Regions from separate parts of the Homo sapiens genome. Here region 2 is linked to region 1. The links are contacts of gene promoters, found by promoter capture Hi-C in human tissues and cell types (Jung and others, 2019). All regions are on one chromosome and are shown on one strand. The core of a region is centred on a gene start or on the middle of the fragment in contact, and the rest is flanking DNA. Distances in the headings are between cores, read along the strand shown. Region 1 holds the start of GNA12 (G protein subunit alpha 12). Region 2 overlaps SDK1 (sidekick cell adhesion molecule 1).

What was found. Contacts are between HindIII fragments. The study calls those that stand out against the background at their distance.
Region 2: a contact is called between a fragment that was not itself captured here and the fragment with the promoter of GNA12 in region 1, in 2 of the 25 tissues and cell types used here (dorsolateral prefrontal cortex and mesenchymal stem cells).

Annotation. Positions count from the first base shown.
Region 1 is chr7:2,843,034-2,845,613 of GRCh38, forward strand. It overlaps GNA12 (G protein subunit alpha 12), which reads right to left and starts at 1,275. Exons shown (of 4, transcript NM_007353.3): 1 at 820-1,275. The coding sequence starts at 1,128. RefSeq lists enhancers at 582-1,399, 1,362-1,656, 1,639-1,768 and silencers at 749-798, 1,139-1,468. The HindIII fragment of the contact is 31,365 bases long and covers 1-2,580 here.
Region 2 is chr7:3,483,375-3,485,954 of GRCh38, forward strand. The region is part of intron 1 of SDK1 (sidekick cell adhesion molecule 1); the gene reads left to right. Among named protein-coding and RNA genes, the nearest start is that of SDK1-AS1, 130 kb to the left of the region's middle. The HindIII fragment of the contact is 8,636 bases long and covers 1-2,580 here.

The DNA.
Region 1 (2,580 bases), core at 25-2,524:
CTCAGCACTTTGGGAGGCCCAGGTGGGAGGATGGCTTGAGACCAGCCTGGGCAAGAGAGTGAGAGCCTTTCTAAAAAAACAGAAAAGTAAAAAGAGACTCATGGCTGGTTCCCGTCCAGTCTCCACTGCTCTTCTTCTAAGCTCAGCCGGAGGGCACGGCCGGTTGGGCTCCTATCCCACAAATCTTCCAGTGGGAAATGGACAGATACCATTCTGCTAGGGCACATCCAGGAGGGGGCTAAGTGCCAAGCCCCCACTCCCCATCCCCAGAAGCTGGCCCGAGTTCCCACTCCCACGGTCCCCAGGCACCCTAGAGAGGGCAGAGGCAGACCGGGCGCCATGACTCATGCCTATAATCCCAGCACTTGAGGGAGACCAAGGCAGGAGGATCACTTGAGGCCAGGAGACTGAGACCAGCCTGGGCAACACAGCAAGACCCCATCTCTACAAAAAAAAACTTAAAAATTAGCTGGGCTGGTGGTGCGCGCCTGTAATCCCACTACTTCGGGAGGCTAAGGAGGGAGTAGGGCTTGAGCCTGGGAGGTCGAGGCTGCAGTGAGCTGTGAGGGCGCCACTGCACTCAAGCCTGGGAAACACAGCGAGACCCCATCTCAAAAAGGGCGAGACGGGGTGGGGCAGAGACGACGCCAGCAGGCCTCGGGGAATGGGTCGGGGGGGAGTGGGGTGCAGGCGGGGCTGGATCCAGCATCCTCGCCCCAGGGGTCCCCGCCCGCGGCGGCGGACCACGGAGGGGCCCGGGGCGGGGGTTAGCGCCCCGGCCCACCTGGGTGCAGGTGCTGGGCGGGGGGCGCGCGTCACCTTGAGGATGTTGTCGAAGATGGTGTCGCGGAACTCCAGCAGCGCCTTCTGGTCGAACTCGCGGCCGTGGATGATGCGCATCTGCTTGAGGAACGTGGACTTGCCGCTCTCGCCCGCGCCCAGCAGCAGGATCTTCACCAGGCGCCGGACCGCGCGCCGCTCGCGGGCCAGCAGCGCGTCGATGTCGCGGCTACGCCTCCGGGCCTCGCGCTCCGCGTCGCGCGCGCCGCTGCCCGCCCTGCGCTCGCGGGCCCCGCCGGCCTCGGCCGGCAGCAGGCAGCGGCTGAGGGTCCGCACCACCCCGGACATGGCCCCTCAGGCCGCGGCCGCGCCCCGCCGGCGCCCGGGGGCCATGGACGCTCCCGCCGGCGAGGGCGAGCCCGGGCCGAGGCACCGCCCCACGCCCCGCCGCTCGCCTCAGGCCGCGTCCGCCGCCGCCGCTGCAGTCGCTCCGAGGCCCGCACTCGTCGCCCGGCCGCCACTCGGGCCCGGCGGAGGGGCGGGCGGCGCCGCGTGAGGCCCGGCGGATTGGGCCGGCTGCCGTCCATCTGGCCGTGAGAGCCCTTCGATTGGCTCATCTCGCCAAGGGAGGCGGGCATCCCTTCCGGCCTCGGGGCGGGGTCGACGCCGAAAGAGGCGGGATCTTTGAGGTGAAGGCGCTTCTCATTGGACGCCCAGGCTGAGGTTCTTTCTTTCAGAATGAAAGGGAGGCGGGGTCGCCCGGGAGGCGGAGCGATCGTCCGCCATGGCCAATTATAATTGCTCTGAGTGGACATCAGACGTGCCCAACGGGCTTTGGATTGGGTGTTCGGGGGACGGGGCGTGACGAGAAGTGCCAGGTGTACAGAAAGATTCTCCCTTGGTTCCCAGATTGGGTCCGCCTGTGAGACCAGGACCTCGCGGAGTAGCCCAAAGGCTGGGAAATGCTGATAAGAGGTTCAGCTGCTCGTCGTATTCCCTCCGATGATCTTGTTTCTACACTATTTTCCTTCCAGAAACACTGGAGGGGGATGGGCCATAAATTTCAAACACATGCACCCTTTGAGAGTGGCATGGGCTTCTAGGAGGCTTTGCGAAAAGCTGACTAATCACTAAAATCACCAGAAGCTCCCCCAAAAGTCTTATGTCTCACAGTGATTGAGAGAGTGGGGTCTGGAGTTGCTGGGCCTGAGTTGGAATCTCCAGTCGACCAGTTACTAGGTGTACTAGTTGCATAACTTTTTTTAGCAGCTTTCCCCACCCCCCCCAACAAACCCTTTTGGATGTTCTTAGCTTCCGTTTCCTCATCTGTAAAACGGGGGTGTCATTGACGACATTGGTTATGGCTTGACATTGCTCAAATCGTCATGAAGATATAAACTGAGAACATGAACTTACCAAACACTTAGCACGTGAGCTAGCCCAAAATCAGCTCTTGATAGAGATCAGCTGATTACAGATTCTTGACTCTCCCAGATCTACTGAATCAGAACCTCCTAGAAGGAGCTCAGGTATCCCTTAAGATTAAAGGCGTGAGCCGCCGCGCCTGGCCCAGTGTGTAGTCTTTTATCTCTCGCCACCCCCCACCTTTTACCCTGAGTCCCCAAAGTCCAATCTCTGTGCGGTGTCTGTTAACTCTGCTGATTATTTCTTTTGCAGTGCCGAAGCTTTTTAGTTTAATTAAGTCCCATCTATTTATCTTTGTTTTTGTTGCATTTGCTTTTGGGTTCTTGGTCACAAAGTCTTTGCCTAAGCCAACGTCTAGAAGGATGTTTCCGATGT
Region 2 (2,580 bases), core at 57-2,556, 640 kb after region 1:
ATTGGCTATATTGAAGATGTAAGAAGGCTGTTGAGTTTTGTGTTCACCTTGTATGTTTTGCGCTTGCCAAAATCCCTTACTTTTTCTGATTGCCTCTGATTTTCTAGGTGAATAATCATATTGTTTGTAAATTGTGATAATCATTTCCTTGTGAATATTTCTGTCTCTAAATTTTTATCTTATTGCAATCCCTGCACCACTACAATGCGGGATTTTAACAAGTGGAACAGATATCCTTGTTTTCTTCTTCATTTTAATGGATGCTTCTAATATTTTACCATTAAATGTAATATTTTCTCTAAATTTTTGATATATACCTTTTATCAGAATTTGCTAAGCATTTTTGTTAGGAATGGGTGTTCAGTACTATTAGATGATATTTATTTCAGTCTCTGATAGTTACATGATGTTTCTCCTTTAATACATGACTATAGTAAATTCATTGGAACATTTCTTTTTTCTCCTCTTTATCATTAAAATGTTTATATATACGTTGGATAAGCTCTACATGGCCATAATACTTGTCTAACATTTTAAAATTTATTTTTAGTTTTTAACTAATACATAATAGTTGGACATATTTATGGGGTACATGTGATATTTTGATATACGCATATGATGTGTAATAAATCAGGGTAATTGGGATATCTGTCACCTCAAACATTTATCATTTCTGTGTGTTGGGGATACTCCAAATATTCTCTTGCAGCTATTTAAGAAATGCCTTACTTCAGTATATGTGAGGGGTTGATTCCAGGGTCCCCTGTATAACCAAAATCGAAGCATGCTCCAGTCCACAGGTGGCCCTGCCAAACCCACGGATACAAAATTTCACCTTCTGTATCCATGAATTCACATCCCTCCAATACTGTACAGTTTTGTAGGATTTGAACTGCATGGGTCCATGTATACACACATTTTTTTTCAACCAAACATAGATCGAAAATACATATTCACTGGATGCGAAACCTACATATATGGGGGCTGACTTGTTGAATATGAGGTTCCACAAGGCCGACTTCGGGACATGAGTGTGTGAGGATTTCGGTAAACATGAGGGTCCTGGAACTAGTTCCCCATGTAGACCGAGGAACGGCTATATTTTCAGTTTGGTTGGAAAAATATCCTTGTATAAGTGGATCCTGGCAGTTCAAACCAGAGTTGTTCAAGGATTAACTGTACAATAGTTAACTATGGTCTCCTGCCAGTGCTGTTGAACACTAGAACTTATTCCTTTCCTCTAACTGTGGTTTTGTATCCATAACCAACCTCGCCTCACACTTTCCTCTCCCCTGCCCTTCCTAGCCTCTGGGAAACACTGTTGCACTCACTACCTCCACAAGATCGGTTTTTTTTAGCTCCCACATAGGAGTGAGAACATGGGATATTTGTCTTTCTGGGCCTGACTTTCGCTTAATGTCCTCCAGTTATAAACGTGTTGCTGCAAATGACAGCATTTCATTTTTTCAGTGGCTGAATAGTATTCCTTTGTGGAAGCATAACATATTTTGTTTGTTCATTCATCTGTTGATGAGCATTTAGCTTGATTCCATATCTTGGCTATTGTGAATGGAGCTGTAGTAAACGTGGGACTGCAGGTCATCTGTTTGATAGACTAATTTCCTTTCTTTTGGGTATATACCCAGCAGCGGAATTGCTAGATCATATGGCAGTTCTATTTTCCATTTCTGGAGGACCCTCCATACTGTTTTCCATAATAGTTCTGCCAATTTACATTCTCACCAAGACCGTATGAACATTCTTTTTCTCTGCATCCTAGCCAGCATTTGTTATTTTCTGTCTTTTTGATAATAGCTATCATATCTGGGGTGAGATGAAATCTCACTGTGGTTTTGATTTGCGTTTCTTAATGACTAGTGATATTGAGCATTTTTTCCCTAGACGTGGTGGCCATTTGCAGGTCTTCTTTTGAGAAATGTCTCTTCAGATACTTTGCCCATTTAAAAATCAGATTATTTGCTTATTTGCGATTGAGTTGTTTGAGTTCAGTGCTGGGTTCCACCGTGGCAGGGCTAACACCTAGTTCCAATGCCAAGTCCCACACTCACTTTGCTTTCCCTACCCCAAGCATAGGTGTTTTCCCTCCAGGCTGTGCTGCCTGGGGATGAGGTACCAGGGTGTAGGTAATGTGAGACTGTCTTCCCTACCCCTTTAAATGCATCTTTTCTTGTTAAGCTAAAACCAGGTCCTGTCATCTCCCATCTGATTTTTAGCTGTTATGAAAATGCTTTCTTGTATGGATAGTTGTTCATTTTGATGTTTGTGCTGAGGGGATGATCTTTGGAGGGTTTTTTTTTTTTTTTTTTTTTTGAGCCATCTTGCTCCACCTTTCTCTCTGGTAATTTTTAAACTTTATTTAAAAATGTTCCATCTATATTCATAAGTGCTATTCCCACGTAAGTGTGTTTTCTTATTATATTTATGAATCCAACTATGGTGGCTTTCTAAAACATCTTAGGTTTTTAAAAAATCTTATTCTTTGTCCCGTTAGGACAGTTTATATAATATTGGTTTTATCTATTTTTTGAAGATTTGAAAAACTCTTCATTAAAACCATCT